Regions from separate parts of the Homo sapiens genome. Here all the other regions are linked to region 7. The links are contacts of gene promoters, found by promoter capture Hi-C in blood cells and fetal thymus (Javierre and others, 2016). All regions are on one chromosome and are shown on one strand. Each heading gives the region's core, a stretch centred on a gene start or on the middle of the fragment in contact. The rest is flanking DNA. Distances are from core to core; before and after follow the strand shown. Region 1 overlaps GMFB (glia maturation factor beta). Region 2 overlaps PYGL (glycogen phosphorylase L). Region 3 overlaps CNIH1 (cornichon family member 1). Region 4 overlaps NIN (ninein). Region 5 has its middle 6.7 kb from the start of CGRRF1. Region 6 overlaps PYGL (glycogen phosphorylase L). Region 7 holds the start of ERO1A (endoplasmic reticulum oxidoreductase 1 alpha).

Evidence for each region. Contacts are between HindIII fragments. The CHiCAGO score rates a contact against its expected background, and 5 or more counts as called.
Region 1: a contact is called between a fragment that was not itself captured here and the fragment with the promoter of ERO1A in region 7, in 1 of 17 cell types (M2 macrophages). The highest score is 7.0, in M2 macrophages.
Region 2: a contact is called between a fragment that was not itself captured here and the fragment with the promoter of ERO1A in region 7, in 1 of 17 cell types (neutrophils). The highest score is 7.4, in neutrophils.
Region 3: a contact is called between a fragment that was not itself captured here and the fragment with the promoter of ERO1A in region 7, in 1 of 17 cell types (M2 macrophages). The highest score is 5.2, in M2 macrophages.
Region 4: a contact is called between a fragment that was not itself captured here and the fragment with the promoter of ERO1A in region 7, in 1 of 17 cell types (neutrophils). The highest score is 7.6, in neutrophils.
Region 5: a contact is called between a fragment that was not itself captured here and the fragment with the promoter of ERO1A in region 7, in 1 of 17 cell types (M2 macrophages). The highest score is 6.7, in M2 macrophages.
Region 6: a fragment that was not itself captured here is called in contact with the fragment with the promoter of ERO1A in region 7 in 1 of 17 cell types (neutrophils); the score reaches 7.3 in neutrophils.

Annotation. Positions count from the first base shown.
Region 1 is chr14:54,485,346-54,488,045 of GRCh38, forward strand. The region is part of intron 1 of GMFB (glia maturation factor beta); the gene reads right to left. Among named protein-coding and RNA genes, the nearest start is that of GMFB, 2.3 kb to the right of the region's middle. The HindIII fragment of the contact is 578 bases long and covers 1,138-1,715 here.
Region 2 is chr14:50,922,055-50,924,754 of GRCh38, forward strand. It overlaps PYGL (glycogen phosphorylase L), which reads right to left. Exons shown (of 20, transcript NM_002863.5): 5 at 1,915-2,046. Among named protein-coding and RNA genes, the nearest start is that of PYGL, 21 kb to the right of the region's middle. The HindIII fragment of the contact is 2,619 bases long and covers 1-2,562 here.
Region 3 is chr14:54,427,360-54,430,059 of GRCh38, forward strand. It overlaps CNIH1 (cornichon family member 1), which reads right to left. Exons shown (of 5, transcript NM_005776.3): 5 at 1-482. The coding sequence ends at 455. Among named protein-coding and RNA genes, the nearest start is that of CNIH1, 13 kb to the right of the region's middle. The HindIII fragment of the contact is 470 bases long and covers 1,155-1,624 here.
Region 4 is chr14:50,778,264-50,780,963 of GRCh38, forward strand. NIN (ninein) reads right to left here. Exons shown (of 31, transcript NM_020921.4): 6 at 502-541. Among named protein-coding and RNA genes, the nearest start is that of NIN, 52 kb to the right of the region's middle. The HindIII fragment of the contact is 4,250 bases long and covers 1-2,700 here.
Region 5 is chr14:54,501,821-54,504,520 of GRCh38, forward strand. No RefSeq gene overlaps it. Among named protein-coding and RNA genes, the nearest start is that of CGRRF1, 6.7 kb to the right of the region's middle. The HindIII fragment of the contact is 1,422 bases long and covers 568-1,989 here.
Region 6 is chr14:50,939,313-50,942,012 of GRCh38, forward strand. The region is part of intron 1 of PYGL (glycogen phosphorylase L); the gene reads right to left. LOC124903314 (a long non-coding RNA gene) reads right to left here. Exons shown (of 2, transcript XR_007064163.1): 2 at 1,489-1,893. Among named protein-coding and RNA genes, the nearest start is that of PYGL, 3.8 kb to the right of the region's middle. The HindIII fragment of the contact is 842 bases long and covers 990-1,831 here.
Region 7 is chr14:52,694,285-52,696,984 of GRCh38, forward strand. ERO1A (endoplasmic reticulum oxidoreductase 1 alpha) reads right to left here and starts at 1,274. Exons shown (of 16, transcript NM_014584.3): 1 at 1,084-1,274. The coding sequence starts at 1,197. RefSeq lists enhancers at 799-1,300, 906-955 and a silencer at 1,206-1,745. The HindIII fragment of the contact is 13,242 bases long and covers 1-2,700 here.

The DNA.
Region 1 (2,700 bases), core at 177-2,676, 1.8 Mb after region 7:
AACATACAAAAATCAGTAGCATTTATATACAACAACAGGAAACAATCTGAAAAAGAAATCAAGAAAGCAATCTCACTTACAATAGCTATAAAAAATTTAGGAATAAATTTAACCAAAGAAGTGACAGATCTCTACAATGAAAATTATAAAACACAGATGAAAGAAATTGAAGAGAACATACAAAAATGGAAAGATTCCAAGCTCATGGATTACAAGACATAATATTGTTAAAATGTCCATACTAACCCAAAGTGATCTACAGATTCAATGCAATCCCCATCAAAATACCAATGACATTCTTAAAAGCAAGAGAGAAAAGATCCTAAAATTTGTAAGGAGCCACAAAAGACTGTGAATAGCCAAAGCAACCCTCAGCAAAAAGAACAAAGCAGTACTTCAAAATATACTACAAAACAATAGTTACCAAAACAGCATGATCCTGGCATAAAACCACACACACAGGCCAATGAAACAGAATAGAGAACCCAGAAGTAAATCTACACATTTATAGCCAACTCATTTTGGACAATGATGCCAAAAACATACACTGGGGAAAGGACACTCTCTCCAATAAATGGTGCTGGGAAAACCAGATAGCTATATGCAGAATAAAACCAGACCCCGGGCCGGGCACAGTGGCTCACGCCTGTAATCCCAGCACTTTGGGAGGCCGAGGCGGGCGGATCATGAGGTCAGGAGTTCGAGACCAGCCTGGCTAACATGGTGAAACCCCGTCTCTACTAAAAATACAAAAATTAGCTGGGCGTGGTGGCAAGCGTCTGTAATCCCAGCTACTCGGGAGGCTGAGGCAGGAGAATCGCTTGAACCCGGGAGGCTGAGGTTGCAGTGAGCCGAGATTGCACCACTGCACTCTAGCCTGGCGACAGAGCGAGACTCCATCTCAAAAACAAAAACAAAAAAACAAAAACAAACAGACCCCAACTCTCAGCATATACAAAAATCAAATCAAAATGGATTAAAGACTTAAATGTAAGATCTGAAACTATACAACCACTAGAAGAAAACACTGGGCAATTGCTTCAGGACATTGGTCTGGGCAAAGATTTTTTTGAGTAAGACCTCAAAAGCACAGACAACTAAAGCAAAATAGACAAATGAGATCATATCAAGCTAAAAAGCTTCTGAGAGGAAAGAAAACAACGAGTGAAGAGACAACCTACAGAATGGGAGAAAATATCTGCAAATTCTCCACTCAACAAAGGATTAATAATCAGAATATACAAGGATCTCAAACAACTCAATAGCAAAAAATTCCCATTTAGTCCTAATAATAGTTAACATGTATCAGACCCTATGAGAGAAACACTGTTATATCCTTTACATAGATTTCCTTTTATGTTCAAAACAATCTCACGAAACAGATACTATTATTACTCCCATTTTGCAAGAAACTAAGGTTTAGAGAGGTTAAGTATCTTTCCCCAATTACATAGCTAGTGGAGCCAGGATTCAACCCAGGCAGCCTATCTTAACTCACTCTCTTAACCACTACAAAGGAGGTGGTGACAGATTGGATATTGGGGGTGGGGGTGGGGTGTGAGTAAGCAAAAAAAAGGGTTACCAGATATACTAGGCTTCTGGCTGGTATAACAGATTGTCTTGTATAACAGACAGAAGACTAGGTTTGAGGAGAAAGGGCATGAGTTCTACTTTGGACAAACTGAGGTGGCTTTGAGGAGACCAAGTGGAGGAAAAGCTTCCCAGGGGAATGGTAACTAAATATTGAAATATTAATATATAGATCTGGGGTCAGGCGCGGTAGCTCACGTCTGTAATCTCAACACTTTGGGAGGCCGGGGCAGGTGGATCACTTGAGGTCAGGAGATCGAGACCATCCTGGCTAACATGGTGAAACCCCGTCTCTACTAAAAATACAAAATTAGGGCCGGGCGCGGTGGCTCACGCCTGTAATCCCAGCACTTTGGGAGGCCGAGGCAGGTGGATCACGAGGTCAGGAGATCGAGACCATCCTGGCTAACACGGTGAAACCCCGTCTGTACTAAAAATACAAAAACAAAATTAGCCGGGTGTGGTGGCGGGAGCCTGTAGTCCCAGCTACTCGGGAGGCTGAGGCGGGAGAACGAACGGCGTGAACCAGGGAGGCGGAGCTTGCAGTGAGCGGAGATCGCGCCACTGCACTCCAACCAACGCGACAGAGCGAGACTCCATCTCAAAACAAACAAACAAAAAAACAAAATTAGCCGGGCGTGGTGGCACATGCCTGTAATCCCAGCTACTTGGGAGGCTGAGGCAGGAGAACTGCTTGAACCTGGGAGGCGGAGGTTGCAATGGGCCGAGATCCCGCCATTGCACTCCAGCCTGGGCCACAAGAGTGAAACTCCGACTCAAAGAAAAAAAAGTACATACAGATCTGGATTGGATCTCAGAAGCAAGGTCTTCTGAGCTGTAAATTCACAAGTCATCTGAATATAGATGGTAACTGAAGCCATAGTTTAGGATGAAGAATACAGAATGGAAAATGAAGGATTAGGATGAAACCTGGGACTCCTTCGAGCATTGTCCAGGGAAAGGAGAATAGTCTGAAAGGGAAACAGATGGACCAATAGGAGAAGTAGGAGGAGCTCTGTATCCCAGAAGCCAAAGGGGAAGAATGAAGGAAGAGAATGCTTCAAAAACAAGAGAGTATAACACTCTGGAATGCAGCTAAAAGGTCAGAGA
Region 2 (2,700 bases), core at 3-2,502, 1.8 Mb before region 7:
ATTAACTATGTTTCACAGTGCATCGAAAATTCAAGTGAGAAATCATTCATTTTTATTCCCGGCCTCATCAGAGTCAAGCTCGAAGGAAGGAGAATGACAGAATAATTGAACTGGAGGATGCTGGATCTCATTTAGTGCAACCCACTTATTTTGGACATGAGGGAGCTGAAGCTGAGAGAGAAGTGACTTGCCCAAGATCACAGTCATGGCAGGATTGAAACTTAAACACGCATCTCTTTAATTTGGTCTGCTGAATTGTGAATGAATGAAGCATTATGGCCCATATCAATCACATATACTCAGTCATACTTTCGTGATCACCGCGACCTCAAAGTAATAAATCACCCTCATTTAAATATCTTTCATTAAGAGATAAAAGTCTCTGGACTTTTAAAGCAAGTTGTAATCAATCAGGGAAAGTCATTTGCAGGCTGGGATTGAGTCTCGGTTCAAACAAGAGTTGGACCCTTCTGACCCTTGAAGCATAATTAAGGCAGCCCAAGAAGTGCACAGCTTAGATCTTCTTTCAGAGAACCTCAAAGAGGACTTGCTCCCTCAGAGCTCACACCAAAGCTGCGCTCTCTGGGACACTCCATGTGGCTGGGACACTAGGGCCGAGACTTCTCTAATGGGCAATCTTTAGTGTCAGGCTCCATCAGCCTGGCCACTTGCTCAGAGTGGCACTGTGGTCTGAGGCTCTCCCTGAGAATGCTGCTTCTTTCCCCTTCACTTTTCACAGGTGGCACACCTGTGTCACAGTCTGAAGCCTTCCCACCTCATCCTGCTCCCTCTCCCCTTTGTCTTTCATAGGCATCCCCCAATATGTCACTTGCACTTCTCATTCTCTCTGGTGTCTGTTTCCTAGAGGACCTAAACTGACACGTGACTGTGTCATTTGACTTTATTGGAAGCCATCCCATGCACGCACAGAGCACATCTGGACTCATGCTCTGACATCACTGGGTACCAGTTTGGGGTTAATTCATGTGATGACTTCAATCTATGAGGCTAAGTTGCATGGCTTGGGCCAGCTCACTTATATTACCTCTGCCCCCTAACCTTGCCTCTGTTGGCCCAGAAACACACACTCTCTCTAATTGAATTTCTGGATACATTATGACAGTATCTAGAGGTGTTTTGTAAATGCAAGTTAGCTCAGCAGTGGGACCCACAGTGTAAATAAAATGCTTCCAGGATTGATTGTGTAAACTGCAAACTTTTATTTTTATTTTATTTTATTTTATTTTTTTTGAGACAGAGTCTCACTCTGTTACCCAGGCTGGAGTGCAGCGACATGATCTCAGCTCACTGCAACCTCCACCTCCTAGGTTCAAGCGATTCTCCTGCCTCAGCCTCCCATGTAGCTGGGACTATAGGCATGGGCCACCACTCCTGGCTAATTTTCGTATTTTTAGTACAGATAGGGATTCACCATGTTGGCCAGGCTGGTCTTGAACTCCTGACCTCAGGTGATCTGCCCGCTTCGGCTTCCCAAAGTGCTGGGATTACAGTTGTGAGCCACTGCACCCAGCCAGGAATGACATTTCAAATTATTCAATTTTGCTATCAACACCTTAATATAAAACCAAAGAGGTAAGCATGCTGGTTACTATAGAACTGACAATTTTCTGGCAAAAAAAAAAAAAAAAAAAAAAGAACTGACAATTTTCTGACAAAGCTGGTTGCAAAATGACCCTTATAAAAGTCACTCCTCTCTTGGCCTCAGCTCCTTTGTCTCCAAAATGACTGGGCTGCGCTAAGAGAAGTAACAGATTTATTTACAAAAATATATTCTATTATTCAAAACACGACATGCCCTATACTCAATATCACCACTATATGCTACATAGTCAATGTATTATCTACTGTACTAAATACTATACAAAACGCTGGCTATACGAGCACTCTGAATACTTGAGTGTCAATCCACTTGGTCCCGGTGTTGGTGTGTTCTACTTTTCCATAGAAGTGCACAGGCAGCATGAATTCTGGGCGGGACTTCTCCCAAGGGTTTCCATATCTGAGCCAATCATCTGCTTCTTCTACCTGCAAAAGGATACAGTATTGCTTAGAATTTATTTGTCAGGAAATATGAACCTAGCACTTCAATTATATTATATTAAATTTAAAACATCTTTAACTGAAACAACTTATGAATACTGAGTACTGTTTTGTAACTTTTTTACAGCCTACATCAACAATAATACTCGCTAATACAGCTCTAAATATTTTATATGTATTACTGCATTTAATCCTCTTTTAAAGATGAGGAATTGTAACTGCTCAAGGTCAAATAGTAAACGGTAGAGATAAGATCTCAAGGTCAAACAGTAAACGATAGAGATAAGATCTGCCCTTAGGTCTCTGTGTTCCAGAGCCTCTGTCTTAACGTCTGTGAATCCAATTGTCCAGCTTCAGCTAAAGACAGACGCCTTACAGGGATGTTTATCGTTGGATACCTGGGCCTGTTGAGTCCTACACAAAGGGTTCAGTCAAGATTCTTGTGGCTAGAATATACAGAATCAGTTAGAAAATGCTACTTACAGAACACTCTTTTAATCAAGCTTATTGGTATAGGTACAGAACATTATTGCATTATGTAGTCTTTGCTTATCTCAATCCTTATGTAATTTTGATTTGATAATGAACTATAGATTATAGTTTATTTTGAAAATAACATATTCCAAGAGGTAATGAACT
Region 3 (2,700 bases), core at 140-2,639, 1.7 Mb after region 7:
CACTAGTCAGATATACATTTTCACTTCATCAGAAGCACCTGATATCTACAGCTAATTTATAATTAGATACTGTTTCAATGAAACCAAAATGAGCCCTACAAGTTCCTATAAACAAAAGCTTCCAATGTACTAGGACAGTCAGTAATTAATGCATCATTCAGAGGATTATGGCTGTTCCTTAAGAAGTGCAAGTTCAAACCTGTCAACACCAGAGGTAATCATTTTATATTAATTTATACGTAATACCATTTAAAATCTTTATCTGAGTATAACATATGAAAACAGTCTTTCCACAAGCAAAAATGTGGAAACATTTAAAAAATAAGGAGTCATTTTTTAAAGTAACTGATCAGATTCCACAGGCTACTCTTGGACAGGATCTTGCTGGATAGAATCCCTTCATTTGGTGGCTTTTTGCATGCACTTAACTGGACCAATTCTTCTGTGTGTTGTTCTAAGAGCTCACCAAAACATAGATCATGCTGAAAAGAAGAAAAAAGATGTTAATTTGAACATTACTAATTATTAAAAAAAAACTCAGAGCATGAGAGAGTATGCTTTATATAGCAAACTAGTATCACAGAAAATGACAAGACTAATGACAAGTTCACAGTGATTTTAATTTGCATTTATGGACTTTTGCCTAACATATGACTTGGCTCAGTGCATATGCTGTAGTTGTCCCCTATTCCCTTCCAATTTTAGCAAGTAGAACGGCACAGCTGAAAGCTTAATGGCGGATCAGAGCTTAGAGAAGCCATCCAAACATCACACACTCTGGAGTTGTGTCTAATAATAGAATGAGTATCTCTGGAGGGCTCACTTCACGCCAGGCCCTGTTAGGTCTCTTATATACATTACCTTGCTTAATCCTTCAAGGAGTCCTAGAAGGCAGGTACCATGTGTATCCCCATTGTATAGAAAGGAATGATCAATCAAGGATCTTTCCCATTACAGAAAGGATCTAAGCAATAGCAACTTTTAGGAAGTGGTTAAAAAAGAAAAGGGGGGAAAACAGCAAAATAAAAGGCAATGACCTTTTGATTTAGGTTTAAGAACTGCCAAGGGCAATTCTACAGAGTGCTATGGGAACGGCATAGGGGCATGATTCAAAAAGCACATAACTCTAAACAGAAATACAAAGGAGTTGAACAAGCTTGATAGACAACCTTAAAACACAACAAATGTCCTGGTGCTACCATATCCTGCTGAACATTTTCCCACAACTGCACATCTCCAACTTTATCATTTATTCAATCATTCATTTCATTTCTTTCATTCAACAAATACGTATGAAGTGCCTATCATACACCAGCCCGTTCCAGACATTTGCTATGGAAACTTATGAAATGAAAATTAACAGGAAATTAAAGTGACACATAGAATTTCACTTTTCAGAGCACTTCTTTGTTTCATAGATGAGTAATATCTGCATATGCACTAAAGGATACTCATTTTCACAGTAATAGCCTCTAAAGGCATAAAAATACCAAAAATACCTTTTTCCTAAATTTCAGTCTAACCATTCATCTTTTCTATGATGGAAACTTATGTATGAAGAGAAATATGAATATGAATATAAGCCTATCTTAGCAAGTTTTCAAGTAATGAAAAAGAGAAGGGAAGCTTATGCTGTTTTTTAAAGCTTACAGCTTTTTTGGAAATATTCTGAAAATCAAGGAGAAAGTCCTCTCTAGTTGAGTATGTATTAATAAAAAATGAGAAAGTATTTTATATAAGTGATGTGTAAAAGTATATTCACATAGCTTAAAGAAATATATAATTCTACATTTAACAGTGTCCTTTTCTAGTTTTAATAAGCAGTCATTTCACTGCACCTACAACACACCTACAGCAGTGGTTCTCACCCAGGGCAATTTTGCCCCTCAGGACATCTGGCAATGTCCAGAGACATTTTTGGTTGTCATGAGGGGGCAGGAGGGTGCTCATGGCAACTAGTGGGTAAAGGCCAGGGATGCTGCTGAACGTCCCATGATATACAGGACAGCTTCCCACAGAAATTCCCACACAGCCCAGAAGCGTCAACAGTGCCGAAGCTGAGACACCCTGACCTAGAGGAACAATGAGTCCATGAGAGTATAAAAGGAAAAAAATCAGGCTGGGCGCGATGGCTCACGCCTGTAATCCCAGTACTTTGGGAGGCCAAGGTGGGCGGATCACCTGAGGTCGGGAGTTCAAGACCAACCTGGCCAACATGGTGAAACTCTGTCTCTACTAAAAATACAAAAATTAGCCGGGCGTGGTGGTGCACGCCTGTAATCCCAGCTACTCAGGAGGCTGAGGCAGGAGAATTGCTTGAACTTGGTGGGGCGGAGGTTGCAGTGAGCAGAGATCGCGCCACTGCACTCTAGCCTGGGCAACAGAGACTCCGACTCAAAAAAAAAGAACAAAAATCGGAAACTGCACCACCCTGTAAGGTAGAACTACTTCTTTCATTCATACCACTCAAATCAAGCAAATCAGAAAATAAAGGGCAGAGCACACCACTTATGAAGAATGATAAGGAAAAAATGAAACATAATGTCTGGAGAGACCCTGAAGACAAGCAGAAATTTCTGCAAACTCACACATCCCTATCCTTCAATGACATCACTTTGCCATGGAGAATGAGGACCATCCTTTACTGACTGAATGTGTCTGAAAACTTATGAAGCAGCATCCCTGACCAAACCTTCTGCC
Region 4 (2,700 bases), core at 49-2,548, 1.9 Mb before region 7:
AACTCTCGGGCTTAATGGATTCTCCCACCTCAGCCTTCTGAGTAGCTGGGACGACAGGCATGTGCTACCACACCTGGCTATTTTTAGTAGAGACGGGGTATGCCATGTTGCCCAGGCTGGTCATGAACTACTGCGTTCCAGTAATCCTCCTGCCTTGGCCTCCCAAAGTGCTGGGATTACAGGCGTGAGCCACTGTACCTGGCCAAGGGATGCACTTTAATAGGTCACTATTTAAGACTGTTAGAAAATTAATCTGAAAGTCTGTATAAGAGAGAAATTAGCCCGTAAGTAAAATTATATATCTTAGTTACCATCTCTTGCATGATACTAAATGCTAGGATTTTAAAACTAAAAGCTATCAATTGGGAATAAATTTTTTGTTGCTGTTGTTCTTAATGTTAATTCCCCTGGCCTGCAGCATAAGAGATCAGAAAGACCGGGTGTGGAGAGCACCCGGCGGCCCTTCCCTTCCAGGCACGTCCTGACACACTCGGCTCTTACCTTCCGCTTCATACTCCTCACTGCGTTGCGTCTTCCAGTGCTAGAGAAGGCAAGAGAAGATTAGTGTGCTTTAGAACTTATTCAGAAAGAACTATCCTAGCTTTTCCTAGAGCAGATCACTCTCTGGCTCTGAAATCATCATCTAAGTGAGTCACATAATTTCAGGACTCTCTAGTGTATCCATCTAGATGAGTTCTCTTCAGTTAACCAGCCAATCAGGACGAGACTCCTAAGAAACACCACACAGCCTTCTGCAGCATTTCACCAAGGATTTGTCCTCATTTGCTAGGTCACTTATTCAACAGCAAAACCTATCACAACCAATTAAACCCAGCCAAAGCAAATATCCAGTATCCATCAACCAACAAGTATCTGTACACATGCATTTATGAATTTATTCTTCAATAAATGTGTACTGAGTGCTTCTCTTTGTGCTAGGTACTGTGCTAGGTCTTGGTAATACAACCATGAACAACCATGAACAGGACAAACATATTTCCTGCCCCAAGAAGTTTATATGCTAATGAAGACATGCAGACAAGAAAACAGGAAATACAACAGGGTAGTATTTTAAGTGCTATGACAAGGAAGTTCAGGATGCTATGTTGCTATGCAGATGGGATACTTTAGACTTGTTAGATCGGGAAGAAGCAATGTCTAAACTGAGACCTGAAGGATAAACTGCAGAGAGCCAAATGAAAAGAAGGGGGCAGGCTGGGCACAGTGGCTTGCGCCTGTAATCCCAGCACTTTGGGAGGCCGAGGTGGGCGGATCACGAGGTCAGGAGATCGAGACCATCCTGGCCAACACAATGAAACCCCATCTCTACCAAAAATACAAAAAATTAGCCAGGCGAGGTGGCGGGTGCCTGTAGTCCCAGCTACTCGGGAGGCTGAGGCAGGAGAATGGCGTGAACCCGGGAGGCGGAGCTTGCAGTAAGCCGAGATCGCGCCACTGCACTCCAGCCTGGGCAACAGAGCGAGACTCCGTCTCAAAAAAAAAAAAAGAAAAGAAAAGAAGGGGGGCAGTTGTTATCTGCTGAAGCAAGGAGGCAAGAATGAGCCTAGTGTATCTGTGGCATAGTGAGGAGAGAGATGCAACTTAAAATAAGTAGGCTAGAGAAAGTATAAAATGTACATTACCAGTAAATTACATTAAAGGCAGTTCAATTTATCTGAATTGGACCATTTTGCCACCTTATCAGGCTTCATTACTCCTGCCTCTTCTCCAAAGTCACAGCATACAGTTGTAATTTGTGTACTGCATAAAAGTGCCCCGCTAAGAGCACAGGTCAGGACCGAAATCCAGCCCTTGCTCCACTGCCCGGGGATAGTACAGGTCGTCTTTTGACCAGTTGCAACAAGTAGGTCCACAGTGGCTGTGGCTTCCAGCAAATGGCTTTAGCCTCTCCAGCAAACTGCCTAAAACTAATCACTGTTATGGGGGGTTACTACAACCATCAAAGAAAACCCTGTTAGAAAAGGTGAATCGCCCTTTCCAAACGGGGCTGCTGTCATAGCAGTGATCCAGCTTTATGAATGAAGCTGCCTTTGATAACAAATAACCAGCACGTTTTCTGGGTAGCTGACCTGTACAAGACTAGTTGATTGCTTAGAATCCGAAAATAAACTCGACAGGAAAGTCAGCCTAATTAATACCTGTCTCTAGAACTTGGATTCCTCATGACAGATGGTATGGCACGTAAAATTTTTAGATGAAATGTTGTTTTTCAGTAGTTCATTCAAGTTAATACGAGTTGAAGTTCTTCTTTCAGGCAACCTACGCTCATCTACTTTATTCTCCACACTCACTAGTGGTAGTTCTCACCTCTTAAATGAGGGCCAACCACCTACCACAGTTTCACAGGTCCATGTTAGATATTTAAGATAGTATCAATTCAGAGAGTTCATTTAATTTGGCCATACCAAGCTGACAATGCTGAGATGGGTTGTTGCTGACAAATGGAAGACACCAAAAGGCCATAACTCAAAATGTTTAAGTTCACTACAATTCATGCAGATTACAATGGAAAGTCACTAATAAACATGGCATCAATGAAAAGTGAATTAGGACGTGTGATTTTTGCTTGTGATAACAATTTCATCAGCTCACTCAGCCTACATTTCTACATAAAGACGTCTCTCCAATCTAGTGGATGTCTGAGGCATGGTGGGGATGGGGAGCAAGTGGTAAAGTCAA
Region 5 (2,700 bases), core at 29-2,528, 1.8 Mb after region 7:
CAGCAAAGGGGAAGAGGACACAGCATGGCCCAAGGGTGCTGCACTTGGGAACGGAATGAACAATCAGGAGCTGTGGAACCAGGCTTTGTAGTGAGTGGGATACTCAAGAGGGTGGGATACTCCAAAGGAGTTCAGGGAATGCCACCCCCAAATATGATGCTTTGGTATGCAGATTACTTTGAACTGAGGACACGTGGGGAACAAGAGTTGCAGGCAGAGGCTTTCTCGAAGCATCCTCCAATCTGCCTGAAGATGAATCCTCCAAAAGGAATTCGATTGTCAAGAATCCCCTTTCTGGGAATCTTATTAACCATATCAACCAGGGAAGATGAACTTGGATTGCAGTGGAGGAGACTAGAGGTTGACCCATGCCCAGACAGACTATCACCTATGTTTTTGAAGGCTGCTTTAAGACAACTTTTTTTACCCAAGGGACTTTTTATCTGTATAACAAGACAACATTTATTCAGCAAAATTTCCTCTCCTCGCTTTTCCATAACTTATATCATTATCACCCCTCAGAAGCCCCGAGTCACTGTTCCTTTCTGTAGCTCAGGATGCTATATAAGCTTCAATCATCTGACTCTTCTTCGAGTCTCATATTTTGTGGGATTCTCATGCGTACATCCATTATTAATTATGGCTTTTCTCTTGTTAATCTGTTGCATGTCAATTTAATTTGAGGCCAGCCAAAGAACCTAGAAGGGTAAAGGGAAGCTATTTTTCCCTCCTCTACAGCTCTTTGGTTCCTGCAGTAGGAAGTGATGGGCTTGTTTAAATAATCCTGTGGGCTGGCAGGGAACTGAAACCCACTACTCAGGGATAAGCAGACACCGTGCCTGGTACTCCTGATAAGGAGGGCTGTTTGGCTAGGGGACTTTATCCATGGGAGCGGAGTGGAGAAAGGAACTTGAGGTTAAGCCTTTCCCAATTTCACCAGATGTCAAGACAGCACATAATATTAGATCCTAACTTCAGGGCTTGCACCACAGGAAGTCAAAACTTGTAGAATGACTAGAATGACACCCAAATTTTCTAGTTCTTTTTTTTCTCCTTTACTGTCTGACTCTGACCTAAGCAGGCTGAATCAAAGAAGCTGACTCAGAAAGCAAAGTAGAGACTTTGAAAACTGAGCTGCCCTTCTGTATCTTGATTGTGATTACAGTTACATGACCTCTATACATCTGTGAAAACTCATAGATCTGTACACTAAACATGGTGAACATTACTGTATATAAATAAAAAATTAAATTAAATTTTAAATAAGTTTTTTTCTTTCTTTTTTTCTTTTTTTTTTTTTTTTTTAGACGGAGTCTTGCTCTGTCACCCAGGCTGGAGTGCAGTGATGCGATCTCAGTTCACTGCAACCTCTACCTCCCGGGTTCAAATGATTCTCCTGCCTCAGCCTGCTGAGTAGCTGGGATCACAGGCACACACCACCATTCCCGGATAATTTTTGTATTTTTAGTAGAGACGGGGTTTCACCATATTGTCCTGGCTGGTCTCGAACTCCTGACCTCGTGATCTGCCCACCTCGGCCTCCCAAAGGGCTGTGATTACAGGCATGAGCCACTATGCCCGGCCTTAAATAAGTATTTTTTAAAAAGAAAAAGACTAGACTGTGGAGAGCAGAGACAGAAGAAGGACACTATTCAGGAGGCTACTGTGGTAACCCCGGAAAAGACATGGCCTGGACCAAGGTGGAAACAGTGATTTGGTGCGAAGTGCCCAGGGCCAATAGAATTTTCTGTACCAGGGTTTCTCAACCTCAGCAATATTGACATTGGATAATTGGATACATTTTTTGTTGTGAGTAGGCTGCACTGTGCATTGTAGGATGTTTAGCAGCATTCCTGGCCTCTACCCACTAGAGGCCAGTAGCAACTTCCTAGTTGTGACAAACAAAAATGTCTCCAGACATTGCCAAATGTTGAAGTGGTAGGGAGGAACACTCCGAGTTGAGAATCACTGTTCTAGATGAATGTCCTAAGCTTTGGGCCACAGACTAAATACCACATTAATCATCAGTGTCAGCTCAGTTGGAGCAGGCTTCAGGTAGCCTCCTACCACTTAGTATGTACAGACAACAGAAGCCCAGCATCTGAAACCATGAGAGTTTCAGGAACTTGGAAGTTCAATGGGCTATAAAGAGTTAAGCTGTTAGGTTCTGCCAAACTACTATAAGATTTTTCACAATTCCTGTTATCTATGATGTCATATCAAAATTGCACATTCAGTTCCATTTGCCAGTTTCTCATGTTTGAAACTCAAATTTAGGACCCTTATTATTTATATTCCTACCTATTTATATTTCCAAATTGAGATCTGACCTTCTGACCTTCCAGGAAAGAATGTGGACTATAGAAAGACAATATGAATGAAAGGGTTGGCAGCTCCAAGGCAAATAACATAAGGGAGATTATAACTTTCAAAAACATGTTAATATTTTTGCATTTCTTGGCCAGGCTCGGTGGCTCACACCTTTAATCCCAGCACTTTGGGAGGCCAAGGCGAATGGATCACCTGAGGTCAGGAGTTTGAGACCAGCCTGGCCAACATGGTGAAACTCCACCTCAACTAAAAATACAAAAATTAGCTGAACGTGGTAGCTTGCACCTGTAGTCCCAGCTACTTGGGAGGCTGAGGAAGGAGAATCGCTTGAACCTGGGAGGCGGAGGTTGTGGTGAGCCAAGATCATAC
Region 6 (2,700 bases), core at 161-2,660, 1.8 Mb before region 7:
AGGCGTGAGCCAAGCGCCCGGCCTACAATTAATTTTAGAATCAAATTTTTCTATAAAGTCTATTTACTGGCAAGTTCCTTATGAACAAGAAGACTACCTAAGGTTTATTGGTGTTTGTTCTTATTGAAATTGGAAATTTCTCTATTGACTTAGACATTATTTGCCTTTGACATGGTAAAAGTCAGGCAAATATCATCAGAGTTGAAGGTGAGAGGTACAAAGTTCAGACCTGCTGAAAACCTTCTTTATATACAGCACAGTTTACTAATTAAAAAAAAAAAGCACCAGTGAGTAACTTCATTGCCCCCTTTTACAATATCTTATTCTCCAATCATCTATCCTCTCTTCTCTACTAGACACAAAACAAAATGGCAAAAATCTGTAAATGCACCAATATAGTTACCTCAAATTTTAGGGATTGCCCCATTTCCATAAGATAAGAAGTAAAAAAAGAAAAAATAATAATTTGGCCAATCAAAAAAAATTGTGAGTAGAATTCAGTATAATAAAGGCGTATTATCATATTTAACATACTAGTTACACATAAATATTTAAAACAAAATATTATTTGAAAACGTCAACTTGGAAATTTCATTCTTTCCCATTTTCCTTTTATGAACAATTGAGTTCTAAATTTCACAACAAATGGTCAACATCCATGACCTAACGGGCCACCTAACACTGCTTTCCAGAACACATCATCTTCGTTTTCATCCAAGTTGTTTGAATGTCTATAATGCTGTTACTAGAACCCTCACCAGCTATTAGATACCTTCGAATGATTGGATAAAAGTACCTTCTCTGGGGCAGACATAGGCAATGGCTGGTGCTCTAGTACGTGATGACCGCTGTCACAGGTAATAGTATCTTAAGCCACAAATACCCATTTGCATAGTATTACCCAGTTTAAAAAAATCCTTCCATGTGTGTATTTTCATTATCTCTATAACCATGATGTTTTGCCTTTTTCTTTTAAGTAATCTACAAAAAGCTTGTTTATATAGTATATATTCCACACTTGCAATTGTGAGGTTATACCCCCAGGAATAATGACTACATCTGTATTAAATTTGCCTCCTTTTTAATGATTCCACATTAGCACGAACTTAAGTCTTCTTAAAAATATTTCAAAGTCTCTCTTGAGAGATATGTGGTTGCTCAGAATAAAGTAAATGAGAAAATACTTCCTTGCATGACAGACTTTATAAGGACAGGAACGTAAGGTGATTCCCTGTTTTCTCACAAATAACTTCTTAGAGGTAATCTCTCCTTATATTTGGGAATATATAAGACTTCAAAAAATAGATCTTGGCCATACTCTTACTTACTGGTCTCTAAATATTTGTTACATATGACTGATAGTAAAATATATGAGCATCTCCAATATACTTTATAAATTACATGCATGTACTATGATTACTAGTATTTTATGTAAAAAGTGGATATTTTCAAAAGGCTTGTAAAATAAAATAAAGAAGATATAACAAATATTTTTAAATTGTATGTTTTATTTTTATCCCCAGCATTAGTCAGAGGGCCTGGGTACTTCCGGGAAGACCTCTGGAACACCTGTCAATAAACCTGAGACTTGCAGGACAGGCAAGAGTTGAGCATAGAAATGTGGTAGGAAGGACACTGCAAGTGAATCGGGGGCCCAGAGTGGGGATTGGTTTGTTGGGAGAGCAAGGTGGGTACAGAGGGTAATGGAAGATAACAAGGGAAGAACAGGCCCACCTGGACTGAGAAGTGCTTTCGAATACTTGCTTAAGTTCTATGGCAGGCAAGAGGAGCCAATGATAATTGAGCAGGGGCAAGATGCGTTGCTTTAGGAAGCTTGAGCAGACCACAATGCACAGAATGAGACGGGATCATATACTCAAATGCCTTCAGGAGCTAGGCAGAGAAAATAAATGTGTAATTGAGGTCACATAAAACAAAGAAGAGTACTGGGCTAAGAAATGGAGTGTGCAAGTCCTGACCACAGGCGCTAAAAATTAAATTCCTGAAAAATGTCTTGGCCAACAAAGTATGTCTGCTATCCTTATTCAGCCTCAGGCTGCCGGTTTTACCACTTCTGGAAAGCAAAATAACCACGTGAAGTCAGCTGCAACAAATGGGTAGCTAGAGCCTCACCAAGGCAGGAAGAGATAATGGAGGAGAGCACGTCATTCAAGGGAACCTATAGAAATCAACAGAAATTGGCAAACAGTTGAACGGCAAAAAGTGAGACTAAAGTTTGCGTCTGGATTGTCAAGATGACAATGGCATGAAAACAAAAAACACAGAGGCCAGTCGTGGTGGCTCATGCCTGTAATCCCAGCACTTTGGGAGGCCGAGGTGGGTGGATCACCAGGTCAGGAGTTCGAGACCAGCCTGTCCAAATGGTGGAATCCTGTCGCTACTAAAAATACAAAAAGTAGCTGGGCATGGTGGCATGCACCTGTAATCCCAGCTACTCAGGAGGCTAAGGCAGGAGAATCACTTGAACCCGAGAGGCAGAGGTTGCAGTGAGCCGAGATTGCATCATTGCACTCCAACATGGGTGACAGAGTGAGACTCTGTCACAAAACAAAACAAAACACGGGAAGATGGGGCAGGATTGGGAGAAATAATGGTTTGAGTTTTTAACGTACTGAGTTTGAGGAAATAGGAAGATATCTAGATATGTTCACTAAACACTCAGAAATGTACGCATAGAGT
Region 7 (2,700 bases), core at 24-2,523:
GTCTCAGTTGTAAAGTAGCAATTTTCTTTCAACTTCCCTTAGTTTCCTAGATAACACTCACCTCAACTCCCAAATCACTCAGCAAAACAACAAAATCCAAGAATGTAAAGTAGTGAAAGAGAAACCTTTCATAATATTTAAATGCATCTTTCCTTTGACATGGTATCATGCCCCTAAACACATAAAATGGTATTTCTGATAATAAATTAATAGCAAAATCCACTTAGGAATAACATGGATGCCTAACCCTTAATTTTGTATAAAACGTAATTTTTATCAACAGAGTCAACCAAAAAGTGGCTTTGACAAGAGTAATCACATTGAAATACTAGATACTGAAGATAATGGAAAACTGTAAGTTTCTCTCAATTTTTTGCTCAAGAAACCACATCTCTTACAGAAGGAAATGATCATAATCCGCTTGTAATTAAACTTGTGCACTGAAGAATAAGGACCTTCCTCCCAATTCGTACCAGCTTAACGGGTGTCACGATAAGAGAATCTCATTACATTCGAGAAAAAGAGCACACAGGACCAGAAACCAGAGGGCAACTGCAGTCCCAAAGACATCAGGTAGTTGGGCTTACACACAGAAAAACCGCAAGCAGCCATTCTTCCGCCTAACATCGAAATCTGAGATCAGCCCACAAACGTCTTAGCCAGAAAGGCTGGCGAAATGCACGCAGCACAGGTACTGGGTACACAAGTTCCTGGTCAAGAGAGAAGTGAGAAAGATCCAGGTTCTGTGAAAATAGCAAATACTGGCAGGGCATTATACACTGTGCACACTCTCCCCGGGCAGATAAGACCAACAAAGATGCATAAACCCACTCAACCGCGTGCACCCAACCCCTCTCCTGGTCCGAGGCACCGGAGGGCGCGGCGACGTCCAGGCTGCCGTGGAGGCCCGGTCCACGCCAAGCCAGACTCAGTCCCGGCCACCGGGCAGCAGCACCGGAGTCTCATTCCCGGTGGGAAGAGATGCAAGGACGCACCCCCAGCCGCTCACCCGCCAGGGCGTGCGGGACAGTGCACGCCGCGGAGGGCGCCGGGACCCTCAGCACCAACGCGCACATCGCTCACCTGGCAGAAGCACCTCTGTGCCGCTGTCTCCGGGGGCTGCTCCTCTCCGTGGCCCGAGCTGAGCAGCCACACGGCGCCCAGGAGGCCAAACAAGAATCCCCAGCCGCGGCCCATTGCAGCTCCGGCAGCTTGTCGCCCCACGCTTGGGAGGCCAGTCCGCACGCTCGGTCGCGGGCCGTGCGCCCTCAGATGAAGCCCGTGCGGGCCGGCCCCAGCGGCGCCCCACCTCCGGGCCGCCTCCCAGGCCCGCCTCGGCCCTCCTGCCTCTCAGCGATCGCCACCTCGCGACCCAGCCTGTGGACGTGCCGCGGCGCCCGCGCCGGCAGCCCGGGGCCTCGGACCGGTTCCTTCCCGCCGCGTGAGGCTGACGCACCGACCAGCTTCCCGGCTCGGCCCCGCCCGGTCCGCTGCGCCCGCGCCCGTCCCCGCCCCCGGCTCCCTGACGCCCCCGGCCTGGAGACGCAACCCGACGCGCACAACCCCAGACCCTGCGCGGGAGTCGGGGGTCCTTCCAGTTCCCAGAGCGAGAGCGAAAGCCGGAGGGGCCTGTGTTTTCCTGCGGGGTTGGGGGGCGGGGGGTGCCCGCCCCGCGCCGCCCCGCCCAGCCCCAGCCCGCTCACTCCCGGCCAATCCTTCCGTATCTCAATGCGAGACAATCAAATCGTACGAATTACGTGTCCACCGTGTTCCCGGCGGAGTCTTAAAGCTGAAAGGGATATTAGAGAGCATCTAGACCAGGGCAGCATATGTCATTTATATTTTTAGTAGCCACAGCAAAAGAGTAAAAATAACAGGTACATTTTATTTTTAAAATATTTTTATTTAACCCCGAATGTGCAAAATATTATTTCAAAATATAACCAACATTAAATTTATTCATAAGATATTTGACTTTTTTTGTCTTTGAAATCCAGTGTGTATTCGATGCGAACTAGACCCATTTCATAGTCAAATGTGGCTGGCTAGTGCCCACTGTATTAGACAGCGAGGGTGGAAGCCACCCGCTCATATCATAGGAAGAAACAGGCCTAGAGAAGTGAGGTAAGGTGAGCAAGGATTGGAGGTCCTCTGATACCCAGTCCTGGTCTTTTAACATTCAGAGTTGGGACTAGTCTATCCGCTTTTTTTTTTTCCAGACAGGGTCTCCCTGGGTCACCCAGGCTGGCCTGCAATGATGCGATCGCAGCTCACTGCAACCTCGAACTCCTGGGCTCAAGCGATCCTCCCACCTAAGCCTCCTGAGTAGCATGAACTACAGGCGTGCGCCACCACGCCTGGCTAATTTTATTTTTAGTAGAAACGAGGTTTCACCATGTTGCCCAGGCTGGTCTCAAACTCCTCAAGAGCGATTCTCCCGCCTCAGCCTCCCAAAGTGCTGGGATTACTTTTTTTTTTTTTTTCGAGGCGGAGTCTCGCTCTGTCGCCCAGGCTGGAGTGCAGTGGCGTCATCTTGGCTTACTGCAATCTCTGCCTCCCAGGTTCAAGAGATTCTCCTGCCTGAGCTTCCCCAGTAGCTGGGATTACAGGCGTAAGCCACCACACACTCGGCTAATTTTTGTATTTTCAGTAGAGAAGGGGTTTTGCCATGTTGGCCAGGCTGGTCTCTAGCTCTGAGCT